Linked DNA regions of Homo sapiens: all the other regions are linked to region 2. The links are contacts of gene promoters, found by promoter capture Hi-C in blood cells and fetal thymus (Javierre and others, 2016). All regions are on one chromosome and are shown on one strand. Each heading gives the region's core, a stretch centred on a gene start or on the middle of the fragment in contact. The rest is flanking DNA. Distances are from core to core; before and after follow the strand shown. Region 1 overlaps PXYLP1 (2-phosphoxylose phosphatase 1). Region 2 holds the start of MSL2 (MSL complex subunit 2). Region 3 overlaps PIK3R4 (phosphoinositide-3-kinase regulatory subunit 4). Region 4 overlaps ASTE1 (asteroid structure-specific endonuclease 1). Region 5 overlaps RASA2 (RAS p21 protein activator 2). Region 6 overlaps ATP2C1 (ATPase secretory pathway Ca2+ transporting 1).

The links. Contacts are between HindIII fragments. The CHiCAGO score rates a contact against its expected background, and 5 or more counts as called.
Region 1: a fragment that was not itself captured here is called in contact with the fragment with the promoter of MSL2 in region 2 in 1 of 17 cell types (non-activated CD4 T cells); the score reaches 6.5 in non-activated CD4 T cells.
Region 3: a fragment that was not itself captured here is called in contact with the fragment with the promoter of MSL2 in region 2 in 1 of 17 cell types (total B cells); the score reaches 7.1 in total B cells.
Region 4: a contact is called between a fragment that was not itself captured here and the fragment with the promoter of MSL2 in region 2, in 1 of 17 cell types (naive B cells). The highest score is 5.8, in naive B cells.
Region 5: a contact is called between a fragment that was not itself captured here and the fragment with the promoter of MSL2 in region 2, in 3 of 17 cell types (total B cells, non-activated CD4 T cells and total CD8 T cells). The highest score is 11.1, in total B cells.
Region 6: a fragment that was not itself captured here is called in contact with the fragment with the promoter of MSL2 in region 2 in 1 of 17 cell types (total B cells); the score reaches 5.7 in total B cells.

The regions. Positions count from the first base shown.
Region 1 is chr3:141,236,769-141,240,146 of GRCh38, reverse strand. All of the region lies in intron 1 of PXYLP1 (2-phosphoxylose phosphatase 1), which reads right to left. Among named protein-coding and RNA genes, the nearest start is that of PXYLP1, 6.6 kb to the right of the region's middle. The HindIII fragment of the contact is 2,464 bases long and covers 832-3,295 here.
Region 2 is chr3:136,195,032-136,197,909 of GRCh38, reverse strand. It overlaps MSL2 (MSL complex subunit 2), which reads left to right and starts at 1,575. Exons shown (of 2, transcript NM_018133.4): 1 at 1,575-2,878. The coding sequence starts at 2,797. RefSeq lists enhancers at 1,028-1,327, 1,498-1,547, 1,125-1,871, 2,498-2,567, 1,872-2,618 and 2 more and a silencer at 1,768-2,157. The HindIII fragment of the contact is 2,546 bases long and covers 495-2,878 here.
Region 3 is chr3:130,742,094-130,745,027 of GRCh38, reverse strand. It overlaps PIK3R4 (phosphoinositide-3-kinase regulatory subunit 4), which reads left to right. Exons shown (of 20, transcript NM_014602.3): 2 at 1-542. Among named protein-coding and RNA genes, the nearest start is that of PIK3R4, 3.3 kb to the left of the region's middle. The HindIII fragment of the contact is 917 bases long and covers 1,105-2,021 here.
Region 4 is chr3:131,022,179-131,025,349 of GRCh38, reverse strand. ASTE1 (asteroid structure-specific endonuclease 1) reads left to right here. Exons shown (of 6, transcript NM_014065.4): 3 at 19-1,345. The coding sequence starts at 44. Among named protein-coding and RNA genes, the nearest start is that of ASTE1, 3.1 kb to the left of the region's middle. The HindIII fragment of the contact is 1,957 bases long and covers 310-2,266 here.
Region 5 is chr3:141,497,417-141,500,771 of GRCh38, reverse strand. The region is part of intron 1 of RASA2 (RAS p21 protein activator 2); the gene reads right to left. Among named protein-coding and RNA genes, the nearest start is that of RASA2, 12 kb to the right of the region's middle. The HindIII fragment of the contact is 278 bases long and covers 1,658-1,935 here.
Region 6 is chr3:130,896,528-130,899,737 of GRCh38, reverse strand. The region is part of intron 2 of ATP2C1 (ATPase secretory pathway Ca2+ transporting 1); the gene reads right to left. Among named protein-coding and RNA genes, the nearest start is that of ATP2C1, 4.0 kb to the right of the region's middle. The HindIII fragment of the contact is 295 bases long and covers 1,693-1,987 here.

The DNA of each region.
Region 1 (3,378 bases), core at 814-3,313, 5.0 Mb before region 2:
CCAAGAGAGTAACACAAGTGTCAGTACAGACAGATGTCAGCTGCTGAAACCAACACCAGCAATCACCTATCTTCACGCATTTTGTTACATAAGATAAACAAACCCCTATTTACTTAAGCCACTAAGCCAGGGCTTTCTGCTACTTTCAGCCAGACACATTCATAACTGATATGCTTTGCAACCACTCATCATTCATTCACCCAACTTTTATTGAGGCCTGTTTCATGCCAGTCCTTGTGCTAAAGGCCAAAGCTTTACAGATGAGCTGGGTATGGTCCCTGCTTTCTAGGGGCTCCCTATCAAGCTGGAAGAGAGGCCCATGAGCAGACAATCAGAATACACAGGGAATGGATGCTGTGGTGGCACATGATGATGTCCCAGGAGAGTGTGAGCATTGGGCAGTGGGCTGGCACTGAGGTGAGGCATTCCCAACTCCCCTTCGGGCATTTGGCACACAGAGTAAATAAACACTTCTCAAGCTAAAAAGCAAGTAAAAAGAACTCGGGATCCTCAGCCAAGCCAACTGCAATTACTTAGTGTAAGTAGAGTCGTTAAACACCATCAATTAATGCAGCTGTTTCAAGATAATCAGCAGTCATTAGAGCAAGATGCACAAGAGAAAAAAAATCATATGCTGCTAACTTAGCAATGCTAGAAATTATGTGAACCGAGGATGAGACAGGCTTGCTTAGATCTTCCTGCCTGCTGACGTTAGCCACCTCCCAAAATATACTTTCTTTCTCAAAGAAGACAGTGATTTTTCACTTTGAAGACAGAGCCAAAAAAAATCAACCATCCATGCCATGACCTTCGACCATAAATGCCCAAGCTTTGATTTTTCAGGTCTGTGTTTCCATTAGGGACTGCAACGGAGACAGACACACTGGCGACAAAAGAGGTTCCAGTCTGGGAAATCAAGAGATGATCATGACCAGAGAAGTCAGAGCACCTGGGGAGCCATTTGTAAAACAGAGAAAGGGTTTTCCCCCTTTTACCTTAATTCTCCCTACATACAAAAGGTTGGCATTATTTGCTGTTTCTTTGTTTTACAAGTGTGGGGCAAGGTTTTTTTTTTTTTTTTAAGACAAAACTTCATTTAAAATTTCCAGGACATAGGTCTACCCTTGAACAACACGGATTTGAACTGAGCAGGTCGACTTACACGTAGGTTCTCTTCCGCCTCTGCCACCCCTGAGACAGCAAGACCAACCCCTCCTCTTCCTCCTTCTCAGCCTACTCAATGTGAAGACAATGAGGATAAAACCTTTATGATGATCCACTTCCACTTAACGAATAGGAAATGTTTTCTCTTCCTTATGATTTTCTTAATAACATTTTCATTTCTCTAGCTTATTGTGAGAATACAGCATATAATACATACAACATACAAAATATGTGTTAACTGACTGCATTATCAGTAAGGCTTCTGGCTAACAGTAGGCTATGTATAGTTACAATATTGGGGATTTAAAAGTTATACTTGGATTTTCAACTGTGGGGGGCCATGGTGGGGGGAATCAGTGCTCCTAACCCCTGAGTTGTTCAAGGGTCAACCATAGTTTAAAGTAAATAAAAATAAGCTGGTTGCCACTAAGATAACTGATGACTGGTTTTCCAGTCTGACTGCTGACTTATCGGTATGAAGTATTCCAGTGTATGTTGAGTACAAGCTGGGCTAATCACGCTCAAACGAGGCAGAGAAGCACTCGAGTTCCTGAAGCAGCAATCACAGAAGGATTTTCTGGTCGACAGCCCATTGCTGGAGGCCGTGCCAGCTCCGTGATGGCAGGTGCTAGTCGGGCAGGCTGCCATGCTGGAGCCTCTCTGTAGGACGCACAGAGCAAGCAAAGCGAGGTCTGAGGAGGAAGGTCCTCTCTTTCCAGCACCAGTTAGGAAACCCATGCCCGTCAACATAGTTTCTTTGGGTCAAGAAGTTTCTAGCTACGGCAGACACAGGAAATGCAGTGTTCTGGCTTCCTGCCTCTGGCTAGTCCCCTACCTGCTCTCAGGAGCAGCTGTGCCATTTCTTGCTCAGAGAACTGGGTCTCTGATAGTACCAAAGGTTTCTGGGGCTGCTGAAGAGCCAGTCCAGTCCAAAATAGTAGCCAGGGCAGCATTCTGTCAACCAGGACCAAAAATAGTGTTGGCAAAACCAGGTGACTAAACAGATCTAGGATCTCTTATCATGCTTCCCACTAACAACCTGTGGCCAAGAGTGACAGTTAAAACAACCAGCATGTGTCAGACACAGATGAGTCAAAATGAGTGCCTGTTTCAAAGAGCTGGCAAGGTCACCACCCCATGGTCAGCCCCTTCACAGCCTCTCATGGCTGTAAGTGAGCAAGTGCCTGGAAATCGATCTGCACCGCCATTCATGTCCTTCACCACAAACTGAAATATAATGTCCTCTGTTCCATGAGGACAGAGACTATTATCCTGTATCCATCATCTCAGTGCAGTCAGTTGGCGCCTAAAAGGTAATTTTAAGAAACAAATGAATAGGAATAGCAGCTAACATTTTTAAAGCATGTACCATGTGGTAGGTGCTTTTCTAAGCCCTCATCATGTATTATTATATTTCAGTTTCACAACAGTACCATGAAGTAGGTATTATTATCACCACCCAAATTTTACAAATAAGGAAACTGGCACAGAGAAGTAACTTGTTCAAGGGTACATTGCTAGTAATGGTAGAGCCAGGGTTTAAAGTCAGTTTGGCCTCTGAATGTACACACTCAATCACTGCACTGTGCTGAATACACAACCAACTCAGGTACTCTAGTATTAGGAAGTCATCAACAGAGAACCTCTGACATCTACAAACCTTGAGAAGTCCTTTCAGGTTTCTGGGTGCTACATACAGAGTTTTTGTTTGTTTGTTTGACTTGCAGAAAGTTTTAGAGAAAACCAATGCCTATTTTTATCCCTAAGAATAGGACCACCTACAATTTTCAAAAAACTATGTAACCACATTTGGTTATCAAGCAACGTGGGCAGGGATATCCAGGTTTACATAGTATTTCTCTGCTTATGAGATCTGAATTCTAGAGGAAGCCTTTTAACCATCCCAAGGTCCCATCTCCCCATCTCTAAGCAGATCGCAGGCTTATTGAATCAAATGAGATATGGACAAAGTTGCTTTTTTATATAGTAAGGTACTGTATAAACATAATGCATGATCCTAATAATTAATATAACTTGCATAAAATATTATATACTTATTAATCTATACTTGCCAAATTTTCTATACTTTCAAGATAGTTCATATTTATATCTATGTTTTAAGATTTAAGCTTAATAGTTTATTTCTGTAAGTCCCTCCATTATTATTTCTGAGCTTCCAAAAATTTGTTCTACAACTTTACTAACTTTACGGTA
Region 2 (2,878 bases), core at 326-2,825:
TGCACAGCTAATCAAAATTAGGAAGTTATATTCTTACTGCTTAATATTTAAGTGTTGATAATATGGTAGGTCTTGTGAAAAAAAAACCTGTCTTCAAATGGTAATAGAAATTATAAATCGAGATTATATGTGTTCCCTTGATATCTTAACTATTCCTACTCACCTCAAGTGGCAGCTTGTAACTAACACGTACCACATTTACATGTTCCATATACGTGCCTGTGTACATATGTAACATGTGCCACAATAGATTTACACGCATCATAATTTTCACTTTGCAAACGTATAGAGTACCTACTGTGCATGAAAAATTATGCTGAGGAGCTTTGGTGTGTACAGAGATAAGAAATGCTTCCTATGGCCTGTTACTATTTGTGCTACTCAAAAAAAGGTTTTGTACTTTGAGATGGGAGGGAAGTCATCTACTAAGTCAGGCTTTTGTTTATTTATATCCCAGTGCCCTTGATCTCCTGCAAAAACAAAAGGCAAAAGCTTGTTTTAAAAAACAAAACATTTGCAAGGATTTGGGTTTGTTCTAGAGCAAGATCACGCATTCTTCAAGACATCTGTTCACACAGAAGAGCTAGGTCTTTTAAAAAAGCTAGGTCTTTCAAAAAAAAAAAAAAGGAGTTCGTTTTGTTTTTAAAACAGGACTCTGTTCCGGTGAGAGCTCGGTGAAGTCCTGATCGGCACCCATGAAGGTGAGGCCGCACGAGTCCAAGGGCCAGAGGCCGTGGGAACAGCGCGGGTCCGACGGGTAGGAGGGGGCAGTGGGTTCGAGCCTCCACGCTTACATACAGCCTGCCAGGGCCTTAGAGCCCTCTGACTGCGAACCACCGCAGAGAGGTGCGGAACGCGGCCCCGACCCGGCAAAAGCCGTCCGCACGCCTGCTGGGCGCGCAGCCACGTTGACTACTGCAGCCTTCCCGGCTCGGCGAGAGCCTGCCAGCCAGCCGAGGCTGCGCCCTTTCCGCGGTCGGGATGAGCGGTTCCAGGAGAAAGGCCGCGAGGGCGGGGCTTGGGGCCTGGCGCGGCTATTTCCTCACACCGCGGTCAGTCAGGACGAGAGGCCGCGTTCAGGCCAGTGCAGAGCGCCACATGGCGCTACCAAGTCGGGCCCCGGCGTTGGCGGGCACAGAAGCAGTGTAATGCGGGAAGCCTGCAGCCCACACTGGGGAAGGATGTGCCAGCTAACGAATGTTTCACCACAGCCCACATGCCTGGGAGAGGGAATTTGAGAGCACGTGGGGGAGGGGCGAAGAGAGCTGTCGGCTCGCAGAGAGCATGCTCCATTCTGAGAGTCGAAGTGGAGAGCCAGGCATGCGCAGTGAGCCCAGGGTGGGTTGGCAGCGGTGAGGGACTGGCGCGAGCAGGCTGATGTGTTTATCCGGTTTTCTGGGTGGGCGGTCAAAGCGCACGCGGAAGGGCGAAAGGCGGCGGAGCTAGGTAGCAGCTTGCGCATGCGTGGAGTGAGCCGGTAGCTCTGGGAGGCTGTGGAGGGGGTTGTTAGAGGAGAAGCAAGGGAAAAGGGAAGCGAAGGGAGAGGAAAGGGGGGAGGGGTGAGAGTGTGCTCTGCGCATGCGTGCGAGCGCTAGCGACGACGGCGGCGGGGGAGTCTCGGGGATGACAGTGGCTTTGCCCGTTGGGGTAACGGTCGTCGTCGCCGCCAGCAGAGGCCTGAGGCGCCACACAGCCCGCGGGATCCATTAAGGCCGCAGCAGCCCGGGCCCTACCGAGCTGGAGTGGCGCGTGGAGTCGGGGTGAGGGCGGCGAGGCACGGGGGAGGGGCCTGCGGCGGGGCCTTGCTGTGTGCGCTGGGCGGCGGCGGGGCCTGGCGGTGTGAGCGCTTGCCTTCCGCGGCCGGGGAGTGCTGAGGGCGGCGGCGGCCGTCGTGCTCGGCGGAGGAGTCGTCTGTGTGTGTGGCGCCGAAAAAATGGCCGGGCAGTGAGGGGGCGGCGCTTGAGTCTGGTGACCCCGGAGTGTGCGACTGAGGCGCGAGGGGCGCCGCCGCGGCCCGGCCGGGCTTGCCCCCCGCCCCCTCCCGCCCGCCGGCGGCGGCCCGCGCACTTCCTCCCCGGCCTTCCCCTCCGGGTTGAGGACTCCCGCCCGCCTCGCCACCTCGGGGAACTGCGGGCTGCAACCCACGGGGCGGAGAGCCAGGGCGCAGTCTGGGCCCCGCGTCCGATATGGAGAGCGCGGCGGCGGCGTCCGCCAGCCGCAACATCAACCTTCGTCGCCGCCGCGGCGTCTTGCACTAGATCCGGGAAGCCGCTGCCCGACCGTCGTCCTTGCCGTCGCCGCCGCCTCCGCGCCCTGTACTGGGATGGAGTAAGAGGCCCTGCAGCCCGGGAGAAGCGTGCCGCGCCTCAGACGGGGCCGGGGCCTGCTCCCGCGCCTGCCAGCTCGACTTGAGGAGGCGCCTCCGTGTCCGGAGATGGAGCTCGAGTGCAGGCCGCCTGCCGAGCCGCGGGGCTAGACTGAGCTCCGAGTCCCGCCCCGAGCGCCCAAGCCGCCGCGTTCTGCGCTCTGTGGTCGCTCCGGACGAACTCGAACGCTGGTTTCTCTCTCATATTTTTGGTCTGGAAGTCTCAGGGACGGAGGGGCGCCAAGGCCCCATGTGTGGGAGGATTGTTTCAGCTCCACAAACTTGCACGGATTTTGGTTACTTGTTTGGCCAATGGTTCGGCTCTGATTTCTTCCGAATTGTTGCAAATTCGCCATCGTTCCCTGGCTGCTTACTAAGTTGGATCCGGAATTTCTTTTCAACCGGGAGCCATTGGTGTCGAAGTGTCTGCAATGAACCCCGTGAATGCTACTGCTCTCTACATTTCCGCGAGCCGCCTAGTGCTCAACTACGACCCCGGAGACCCCAAGGCGT
Region 3 (2,934 bases), core at 314-2,813, 5.5 Mb after region 2:
AACCAGCTATAAACAAGAGCTGGAGGAACTGAAAATCAGGCTTAATTCTGCACAGAATTGTCTACCTTTCCAGAAAGCATCAGAAAAAGCATCTGAGAAAGCAGCTATGCTCTTTAGGCAGTATGTGCGAGACAATCTCTATGATCGCATCAGTACCCGTCCATTCTTGAATAACATTGAGAAGCGCTGGATTGCTTTCCAGATCCTGACAGCTGTGGACCAAGCACACAAATCTGGAGTTCGTCATGGGGACATCAAGACTGAGAATGTGATGGTCACCAGTTGGAATTGGGTTCTTCTAACTGATTTTGCCAGTTTTAAGCCCACTTATCTTCCAGAAGACAACCCGGCAGATTTCAATTATTTCTTTGACACATCACGGAGGAGAACTTGCTATATTGCTCCTGAACGTTTTGTTGATGGTGGGATGTTTGCCACTGAGTTAGAATATATGAGAGATCCTTCAACTCCGCTTGTAGACTTAAATAGCAATCAGAGAACAAGAGGAGAGTTGAAGAGAGCAATGGACATCTTTTCAGCAGGTATTTGAGTGGGTCACATTTGCTAAGGGAGCATGTGTTTTTCTTTTAACTGTTAAACAGAAATGTGGCTTTTTTTAGTCACCAGATATTGAAAAGTTAATGTCTTGGTTTGTCCTCAGACGCTATTTCAGTTAGAGGCAGCATTCCTGCATTGGATATGTTTAAATGCCTAGGAAATGCAAACAGCAGTTTATTTACACAAACATATAAACATATTTGCTTGCCTACTTTTATTGTATGTGTCAGGCACTGTCCTAAGTGCTAGGGATATTGGTGGATAATATATTTTCATAATGCTTCCATTTTAAAGTGACCGTGGATATTGCAAAAGGACATTTCAATGCGGTGTTGATTGCTGTGGTGGTGATAAGCATAGGGTGCTGCTATAGGAACACATAGATATTTAAATTAGTCCTCATGGTGGTGTTGAGTCAAGAGGTGGGATCAAGAAAGGCCTCTTTAATAGAAAGATGATATTTACATTGAAACCTGAAAGTTGATTGGGAGTTAACTTTCGTAGAGTAGTTTGTTTCAGGCAGAGGATGTTGCCTATACAGAAGCTTAAAGACCAGAATATGATGCACTGATGTGTTTTCTGGAACACAGTGTGAATTAAGCAAGGCCCAAACTCAGCCAGATCAGAAAGGGTCTGGCCTGACTGGAGCATGGAGAGTGAATTTTGCAGGGGAGCTACACAGAAGACAGGAAAACAAGTTAGGAGAAAACTGCCACAGTCCAGGTAAGATGATTGTGACCGGCTTAAGATTGTGGCAGAGTTGGAAGGAGTGGAGAGAAGTGGTAATGCTTAAGAGATAATTAGTAGATAGAATTGTTAGGATTCTGTCATTGGAAGGTGAAGTCACAGGAACTTCTCTCGCCCACCAAACTGAGTGGATGGTGATGCTGGTCCCTGAGACAGGGAGACACAGGAGGAGCAACAGGTTAGGTTGGGAAGATGATGAGGTCTGTTTAAGATATGGTAAGTTTGAGATTTCTGCCAAGTATGCAGGAGAAGATGTACAACATGTATTTGGTTATATTTTTATTTATTTTTAATTTATTATTATTTTTTAGAGGTAGGATCTCACATTGTTGCCTAGGTTGGTGCCCAGTGGTGCAATTGTAGCTCACTTCAGCCTCCAACTCCAATGATCCTCTTGCCTCAGCTTTCTTTGTGTAGCCGGGACTGCAGGCGTGCACCACCACACCCAGTTGACTTTTTTTTTTTTTAACATTTTTGGTAGAGACTATTTTACTGTGTTGCCCAGAATGTTCCTGAACGCCTGAGCTCAAGCTGTCATCCCACCTCAAGTTTCCAAAGTATTGGGATTACAGGCATGAACTACCACACCTAACCCAGCAGTTGGTTATAAATTTTTGGGCATAGAAATCTGGGATAGAGATGGAGATTTGGGAGTTATCAGGAAATAGGTAGTAATTGTAGCCAGGGAAAGGTTGTACAGAAGTGATTCTGAAGCTTTTTTGGATACCCTTAAAAAATTTAATGAAATCAGTGGACTCCTTCCCCAGAAAAATGTACCATGCATTCATTCCTATATATTATTTCACATACACAGACCACATGAAGCTGAGCTATGGATTCCAGATTATTTAAGAATTTGTGGGATAGAGAGGAAGAAGTGTGTTGAGAGTGGTACTCTGATAGACTTCAAAAGAAATCTGGCATCGGTGCCATTTTTGGTAAATTTTGTGATGGTTTGGCTTAATTTTTTTCTTGCTTGTAGGTTTATTACAAAAAACATAAATTGAGCCAAATTTTAGATTATTTAGGAAAATTAATTGATGAATGAATGTATTTCATCTACCAGAATGAATAATGTTATTCAGGATTGCACCTATGTTGGTCTATTCAGCTCACTAATCTGTGTCCCAAGATAATACTGAGAGATGTTTTGATAAGATAGGGTTAGCCTCAAGGTTGTAAATACAGTATAACAAGGTTAGAAATGTAATCCATCAAAGTTCCAGTTTTGTTGATCAGTGTATTAAAATTTTCTTGAACCATTTTTACATTTTAAACTCACTAATTGTTATGTAATCCTTTAGCTTAGGAATTGCGTCACTTTCAAACTTCAGGGGATCATTCATAGGTTTAAAATTTCAGTGGTTGATAAGCTTATTTTTATCCTTTTTTTGTGCATTATAGTTTTGTAAACTTCAACAAAATTCACACTCAGCATTTATTTTTCCAGACCAAAGAGCCTTACATTGTTTTGGCTGAAGGTAGGCCCTTCCGTTCCTTTGAAAAAGAGGTGGGTGGCATCTGTCCACTTCCCAGTGCTCTTAAGATTTGAATGTTTGGGTTTTGAGTGCTACTTTCCCCTCTTGATGGATATCCATGGTTCCAGGCTGCTGGTTTGGGAGAAGTGTT
Region 4 (3,171 bases), core at 39-2,538, 5.2 Mb after region 2:
TTCTGTTGTTTTAAACAGGCGATTAATTCTTTAGACTGTCATCATGGGTATCCGAGGACTAATGAGTTTTGTGGAAGATCATAGTAATGAGTTCTTCACTGATTTGAAGTTGCGGGACACAAAAATTGTCATTGATGGTTATGCTCTTTTCCACCGTCTTTGCTTCAGTTCAAACTTGGATCTCCGGTATGGAGGGGACTATGATTCTTTTGCAGATGTTGTACAAAAATTCTTTGAATCACTGTTTGCTTGTAATATATGCCCATATGTTGTATTAGATGGAGGATGTGACATTTCAGATAAAAAGCTTACAACTTTAAAGGATAGAGCTAGAGAGAAGATCCAGATGGCCCATTCCCTTTCTGTTGGTGGGAGTGGGTACGTATGTCCCTTACTCATCCGGGAAGTATTCATACAGGTTTTGATCAAGCTGCGGGTGTGTTTTGTCCAGTGCTTTTCAGAAGCAGATCGGGACATTATGACACTTGCTAACCATTGGAATTGCCCTGTGTTATCATCAGATAGTGACTTTTGCATTTTTGACCTGAAAACTGGGTTTTGCCCATTGAATAGCTTTCAGTGGAGAAATATGAACACTATTAAGGGCACACAAAACTATATCCCTGCCAAATGCTTTTCCCTTGATGCATTCTGCCATCACTTCAGCAATATGAATAAAGCTCTACTACCTCTCTTTGCGGTGCTATGTGGAAATGACCATGTTAATCTACCCATCATGGAGACATTCTTAAGTAAAGCGCGTCTTCCTCTTGGAGCTACCAGTTCTAAAGGGAGGAGACACCACCGAATCCTGGGACTTCTGAATTGGTTGTCTCATTTTGCCAACCCTACCGAAGCACTAGATAATGTTCTGAAATACCTCCCAAAAAAGGATCGAGAAAATGTTAAGGAACTTCTCTGCTGTTCCATGGAAGAATACCAACAGTCCCAGGTGAAGCTACAGGACTTCTTCCAGTGTGGTACTTATGTCTGTCCAGATGCCTTGAATCTTGGTTTACCAGAATGGGTATTAGTGGCTTTAGCTAAAGGCCAGCTATCTCCTTTCATCAGTGATGCTTTGGTCCTAAGACGGACCATTCTTCCCACACAGGTGGAAAACATGCAGCAACCAAATGCCCACAGAATATCTCAGCCCATCAGGCAAATCATCTATGGGCTTCTTTTAAATGCCTCACCACATCTGGACAAGACATCCTGGAATGCATTGCCTCCTCAGCCTCTAGCTTTCAGTGAAGTGGAAAGGATTAATAAAAATATCAGAACCTCAATCATTGATGCAGTAGAACTGGCCAAGGATCATTCTGACTTAAGCAGATTGACTGAGGTAAGTATTTGTAATACTAATGAAATTTTTGTAAAGTACTTTACAGGATACAAAGTGCTGTCTTCTATATTAGTTCACTTACTATAACAAACTGATGAGGTTGAGTGCTATCTTGCCCTCATGTCGTAGCTAAGAAATCTAGAACTTGAGTGAACTAGGTAATGTCTTAGCCAGAAAGTGTCAGTGCTAGGACTCAAACCTAGCTCTTTTAGCTCTAAATCTACCATTTCCACTGTACTTCAGTAGTCTGTGTTATCGTCACAGTTATTACTACTATATTGTTATTACTACCAGGTTAATACTAGCTATCAATAGAATGGGTTACGTGGCTGAAAAAAAAAGGAAAAAAATTCACAACTGCAAAAAAAGTGTATAGACACTAATCATAGGCACAACATCTCAGACTACATCGGATTTCAGATAAGGTTAGTACTGATGCTAAGGTCTAATTTTTTAACTTTTATTAATGAATACCTTTTTTAAAATAGGTTTTTGTGTCATTATGGTTATTTGCCTAGTTTGATACAGAAAACATGACTCTTAGTCTAACTTAGTGTTGCTTAAACCTGAGTAACACCCAGACCACCTTTTCAAGGAGAAAAAAATTCTCATGGATCCCAGTGTTGTCTTTTTATATTACATATATATTTAAAATTACAAATAGATATGAAACTATGCTGATAAAAGAACTAGATTTAGACATTAAATAGAGATAACTTAAAAAAAAAACAATTGCAATGCCCATTAGGGGATCTTCTTAGATCCAATGAAATATTCAGTCTCACAAAACTCACAGACCACACGTGGCACCAGTCTACTTAAGGATGTAGGACGGCAACCACAGCTTCCCAGTGGATTTAAGTCAGGTCTTCCTTTTCTGTCAGAGTTCTCCCAGCACTGTTATCAGTCTACACCAAAGCTTTATCACCATTGGTGATTTTGTCCCCCAGAGGACATCTGGCAATGCCTGGAGACATTTTTGTTGTCCCTACCTAGGGAGTAGAAGGGGTAGTGGTTGCTATCGGTATCTAGTGGGGAGAGGCCAAAGATGCTGCTAAATTTTACAACCTGTAAGTCTTACAGTGCACAGGAAAGTGTCCCATAACAAAGAATCTCTAGCCCAAAATATCAGTAGTGCCATTCCCTGGGCTATACAGCTGACCAGGAACTAGCCTCTTAGCCTCCTCTTCAGTCACATCTCAGACAGGAGGAGATGAATGTCATAGTGAATGAGTGCAAGAGCCTTCTTGGCATTGGGCAGTGAGTCCAAGAGCCTTCTTGGCATTGGCGAGTGACTGTTAAACCCCCAGGGTTTCTTTGGTTGGGGGTGAAGAAAATGTTTTGGAATTAGTGATGGCTGCACAAGTTTATAAATATACTAAACCAAGGCAAGATGGCTCATGCCTGTAAGCCCAGCACTTTGGAAGGCCAAAGTGGGAGGATCACTTGAGGCCAGTAGTTCAAGACCAGCCTGGGCAACACAACAAGACTGTCTCTACTAAAAAAAAAAAAAAAAATTTTTTGCCAGGCATGGTGGTACAGCTACTCAAGAGGCTGAGGTTGGAGGATTGCTCGAGCCCAGGAGGTCAAGCCTGTAGTGAGCTATGATTGTGCTCCCTGTTGAGCAAAACCCTGTCTCTAAAAATATATATACACTAAACCCACTGAATTGTATGCTTTAAAAGGATGACTTTTATGACATATGAATTATACCTCAGTTAGATAAAGGAGAAGAAAAGGTTTCAGTAGCTTAAAAGCCCCGTTCCCTATAGGATCCAGTCTTTCTTATAATAATTCCATAAACATAGCTAGGTCCCTGCAAGGGA
Region 5 (3,355 bases), core at 547-3,046, 5.3 Mb before region 2:
CAGTTTAACCTGATGAACACTACAAGAACTGGATATACATGTAAGTATGAATACTCCAGTACATTTCTATCAAATAAGTTATCCATTAAGAAAACTATGAAAAGATACTTTATGAGTATCACTACTGCTCATGTTAGAACCAACACTTAACTGAGCACAAAATGCCAGGCAGTATACCGAGTCATTTAACCTTTTCACAACTATGCTATATGATTAGTAAAACTACTATTCCTAATTTGTAGACAAGGAAGCTGAGGCTCAGAGAGGTTAAGTGATTAGTAGAAAAGTAGCAGAAAACCATGCTTTAAACATGCTACCTTAGCCTTTATCATTTAATCAGTTTTCACACACTTAAAAAATATTTTGTATATAATAAATCTTACACAAGAAAAAAACACTCCCATTGATTTATCTTTAACAGTTCTGAATGGAGAAAGGAAGAGAAGAACTGTCTTTATCACACATGACCTTCCAAAGAGTCTCAAATTTACCCCCTTCAGAGTACATCAGATTGCTGCAGGGTATGAAGAAACAAAAACAAAAAAAGGAGGGGGGACTGTCAAGAACTACTGAAAAGAAAAAAGTTATGTAGCTGTTATTTCCTTCCTTAGTGGCTCCTTAACTGTCATCTTGAAAACACCACTGGAAAGTTACACATTTGTGACATTAATCAGACAGAGAATGAGAAATAGTACCAATAGGCATATGGTGACTGCTGGAATATCTACCACTAAGCAGAGTTTTCCAATGCATAAATTAACATGGTGAGATAACTCAGTTGTCAAGCAATTTTCCTCACTCCTGGCAAATGACTTGTATCTGTAAAATAATCCAAGAGTCTATAATCCCACTCGATTGGTAATCTTTAAAAAAACAACACATTGGCCAGGCACGGTGGCTCATGCCTGTAATCCCAGCACTTTGGGAGGCCGAGGTGGGCGGGTCAGGAGATCGAGACCATCCTGGCTAACATGGCGAAATGCCGCCTCTACTAAAAACACAAAAATTAGCTGGATGTGGTGGCGTGCACCTGCAGTCCCAGCTAATCGGGAGGCTGAGGCAGGAGAATTGTCGAACCTGGGAGGTGGAGGTTGCAGTGAGCTGAGATCGCACCACTGCACTCCAGCCTGGTGACAGAGGGAGACTCCGTCTCAAAAAAAAAATCAACACATTAAATAACTCCTACCAGAAATCTGGTTCTGCCTAAGAACAAGGCACTATGATAAAATGAGGTAGTACCAGTGAGCAAACACTTGAGTGGGCACAGGACTCTAGGAATATGACACAGTTTGGGTGGCTAGCCGAGACTCAGTGAAGCAAAGAACTGTTTTTTCGTGTGTGTGTGTGTGGCTATAAAACCTGAACTATATATAAGTACAATTCCACATAAATAAGGCAATCCTGTATAGTGGTATTATATCACAAGGGTTTTTGTGGGTATAAAACCTGAACTATATATAAGTACAATTACACATAAGTAAGACAATGGCTAGTGACAAGACAAAGTCAAAGTAAACGCATAAATACCACTGCAACTCCTCAGTGATAAAGTCTACAGAACATAATCGGGGCTAGTTGCTGCATGGAAGTCATGTGCACAATAACTATCATACAGTTATCTACACTGCTATCATATTAATCACTTTTCACTGAAGCTTAATCTAGAACAAGAAGTTAGGAAACTACTATACACGAAAAGGCAAGTTTCACAAGGTATTGCCAGGAAGTGTCTATGGGTTATATAGATACGTCACCAAGTTGCGGGCAGGATCTTCCTGTGGTTTGCCTTGCCCACTTCCGGTTTCAGTTTTGAATGTGTGCTGATCTACAAGCTCCCTACAGACCCCTTCCTCAAGTGGCAAACCAAACTCTGAAGTACATATGGCAGGAATCTCTTCTGGGCTAAGCCAATGGTACCTATAGCTACAAGAAGCTTAGCAAGGCTACCAAGGTGACCAAGAGAGCCTGGTATGACAAACAAAAGGAAGGCAAAAAGCCAGGTGCTGGCAGAACTCAGGGCTACATGGACAGGCTATATATGGGATATGGCTGTTATTTCTGGTGACAGCATCCAGGGGGCCAAAATAGGATTCATATTGATCTTCGCCCCCCCTCCACAAAAAAAAGACACCTAGACACATAAAGAAGTTACACCCATGAGCATATAAAGGTGTGTATGTGTATATCTGTGTGTGTGTATGTATGTGTGTACACATATCCAAGAACCACTCAAAAGTACATACAAACCCACATAAGCAGTTAGGCAGCTAAAATAATTACATTCATGAACCCCCAAAACAGGCCAGAAGATAAATTCTTATGGCATTCAAACATCATAATTTTATTGAATATCCACTACATTAGACCATAGCCAATTTAGGAGTAATTATCAACTTCTTGACAACATAAATGTATTCATCAATTCCTTCCAATATATCATCTCACAGGCAGCTTTGTAGAGAAAGGGATGTGGGCTTTGGTAACATAAAGACTTTCTGAAAACTTGGCTCTGCTCCCTTACAATCCTGAGCAAATAACCTCTGTCTGTTGCTTCTTCTCTAAAATAGGAATAACAATCTTCTTCATGAAATTGGATTACATGAAATATTTTGCAAAGTATCCTAACACAACATCTGGAAACCAGGAAATACTCAATAAACATTAGTTCACCCCATCTACCAAGAATATTTTATATAAAACTGTAAAATTCAAAACTAAAATTCTGTACCACTCACACAAATGTCATATTTTAAAGGATCCAAAATTTTCAGACCCTTTTTACCACATTTCTCTGAAACAATGTATTAAAATTTTAAAAAGTTTTTCTAACATAAACAATTAGTCAAACAGGCAAAGTATATAAGAATTTGCTGTATTATTTCTACTTTTTTTTTTTTTTTGAGACAGGGTCTCACTTTGTCACCCAGGCTGGAGTGCAGTGGTGCGACCTCAGCTCACCGCAGCCTCAACCTCCTGGGCTCAAGTGATTCTCTGGCCTCAGCATTCCAAGTATTAATAGCTAGGGCTGAAGACACACACCACTATGCCTGGCATTTTTTTTTTTTTTTCGTTTGTAGAAACGGAGTTTTGCCATGTGGCCCAGGCTGGTCTCAAACTCCTGAGCTCAAGCCATCCACCCTCCTCAGCCTATTCTTACAATTTGTAAGTTTGAAATTATATCAAAAGTTACCAAAAAAACTTAACAGAAAAGTTGACTTTATTTCTTCTATAGCACTCAAAATGTTACAAAACCTAACATTTGATTACTCTTGTTTTGCAGATAGGATAGTCTTCCAAAGTAGAGCAACAGAGACTGGCACAGCTTAAGATTAATACTGTATCAAGTTCATTTATA
Region 6 (3,210 bases), core at 591-3,090, 5.3 Mb after region 2:
TCAAACTTTTTCTAAACACATCACAGGTTTAGTCTAAACCAACCTAATTTAACACAATTGGTGTAATTTATTTGTAATTCTACGATTTATACTTTTGTCGTAGCAACTTAAAGCCTGAAGACAGAAGATACACAGTTGACTCTTTAACAACATGAGTTTCAACTGTAAAGGTCTACTTATACTCAGATTTGCTTCTGTCACCCGAGACAGCAAGACCAACCCCTCCTTTTCTTCAGCCTACTCAAAGCGAAGACAATGAGGATGAAGACCTTTATAGTGATCCACTTCTGCTTAATGAATTATAAATATATTTTCTCCTCCTCATAATTTTCTTGGTAAGTTTTTTTCTCTACTTTATTGCAAGAATACAGTATATAATACATATAGCATACAAAGTATGTGTTAATTGACTGTTTATGTTATCAGTGAGGCTTCCAGGCAACAGTAGAGACTATTAGTAGTTTAGTTTTCAGAGAGTTAAAAGTTACATGCAGATTTTCAACTGCATGGTGGGTCAGCACCCCAACCCCCACATTGTTCAAGGGTCAACTGTATTAACAAATGCATATAAGTAGCAGTCATATACATCCAAGAGGAAATTATCAATTTAGCCTTTTTTTTGAGAGATCCTTTCTTTCATGAAATGATGGCATTAACCTCAGGATGCACCCTTTACTGCCTTTTACCAACATTTGTCTACATGAAAAGCATAAAGATAACCTTGTCACAACTGATGCCTGAAACCATTATTAAAAAGAATTTGTTTCAACAAAGTAAATGTGAGGGGACCTCTTGAACTGATCCTTAAGATATTTTAAGATGCTACATGTAACAACGGTGTAATTTAAAATTCATGCTAACTTTACCATCAAGCCACAGTGTTCCTGGCACCTTTAAAACAAAATTTAACCTTGCAAAACAGATCATGGCTAACTAAGATCTCCAAAATCAGTCCTGGGCCCCTAGGGGTGTGTTCCCTAGGAAACTATTTTGTTTCATAATGCTTTGCGTTAACAGACCTGAATTCTGCTGACTTTAAATGAATGACAAAAATATGAAGACAAATCAAGTATTTGGAATCCAACTGTCAGAAGGTTATTGCATACAAGTACTCTCTACAGCATCCTCTGGCTTAAATTACTACAGTTTACAAAATGTCATATATATAATCTCTTTTAGTTTCAACTCTTTTTCAGAGTACTAATTAAGACTATCATTTTATGGACAAAACTGCAAACAACATAAACTATATTTCCCACACCCAAAGATATATTTTTATAACCTGGTTTCCTATTTTCAGTTAAAGGAATAAAATTAAGGTGGCTTCTCATCCCTTTTTCCCTATAGCTTCTCCAACTATAGTAATGCAATTTTTTCTTGAGACATTCCTAGCTGATTAACAATTTGAAATTGAATTAAGAAACTGCTTTTAAAAGTAAAGTGTAAATACAACCATTTTCAAACAAAAAAGATTGGGGCATTGTTCTCTACACCTATTAGCTCTGTCTATAATCTTAAATTAACCATGTCCTGAAATCCTGAAGACTATTACATTTCTATCCACTAGTCAAACATTTAAGGCTATATTAAAGTTTCATGTGTATTAAAGTCACACTGAATTTTCTATGGGAAAGGCCAAATTTATTCCAAAAAATAAATCCATTACTAGAAAGGAAAACCTATGTGCAAGCTTCTCCAGCTAGACATATCTTTTCTAGTAAGCTATCACTTTAAACATGCAATTAACTTTTAAAAATCAGGTAAGAGCTGTTTACTTGTGCATCTCAAGATGCCTAAGCGGGATCTGTTTAGATTTGTGATAAACATGTAAAAACAAATTCCAAAGGATCTGGATAAAATCCTAACTCACGACTGAATGTTAAGTAGTCCAAAAATTCCAGGAAATTAACATTTTAAACGTTCCTAGTGACAAGCAGAAAGTGTTCATGAAACATCCTGGAGTCTACAGCTAAAAATTGGTCAAGCTTTGCTGAGAAAGTTTAAATGGGCCCTAGGAAAAAAGTCCAGAAGAATCTAAACCGAAGTGCCAAAGAAAATACCACCATTGCTGAAGGAACCAACACATGGATGAAACCATTTCCTCCCCACACCACTGTAAGCTACCTAAGAAACCTTCATGCTGATGCTCTAGGGAAACACTATCAATTCTACACTGTTCACACCCACAAATGTAACTACCTGCATACCTACTGGAGGATACTCTTACTAGGGAACAGCAGCATCACTCAATTCATCCAAGTTAACTGTATGTCAAACATTGCTCTGGCGGCTTCATTTATTACTCACATCAACTTTGCAAGAGGGCATTATCTCATTTACAGATGAGATAACTTAGAGGCTGAGAAAGCTTAGAAGCCTAGTAACTTGTCAGATTTTTCAGGAGAGGAAAACATTACTTGTCGGGCTTCAAATCCAAACCTGTCTCTTTCTGTACTGGACCCTGGCTTCTTGGTAGAGCCCTAACTTTTTCTGTAGGCTTAAAAGCACTAATGCCATAGAAAATTCCTTACCTAACTCCACTTATCCCTCAACTAACAATGACAACTTCATTTTGAGCATTTGGCTACTACTGTTCCCCCTTCCAACATTTAACTGTCATGACAATATTAATGCCAGGTGGCCTATTAGTATGTATCAAACATTCAGCTAGGCAATTTATAATTAACATTTACCGAGCACTTACTATGTGCCAGATACTGTTTGAATGTTTACAACAACCTCATAAGGTAGGTTCTATCATTATCTTTATTTTATGAAGAAACGGAAGCACAGAAAACTTTAATATGCACAAAGCCAAATGGTAAGCGACGAATCCAGCATTCAAATCAGTCTGCATGGTTCCACCACAACTCAAGCTCTTAAACGTTATCATTCCTACCTCACAAGAGAATTTATACAGGGTTTCTCATTTAATCCTCTCAATTCTGTGAGTTAAAGATTATCAATCCCAATTTATAGATGAAGAAATACAGGCTCAGAAAGGTGACGTAATTTACTTAAAATCACACAGCTTTAAGTGGTTCAAGACAAGTTAGTCAAGACTTGAATCCATTTTTGTTTCACACCTCCAAATTGTTAATACTACACTATATCAAAGAAGGATGAAAACTACAAAAAGGCAAGTGAACAATAAAAAGGCACAGGTATCAATCTATGTAGTTTAATATGGTCAGTCACTTTTGAAAATTT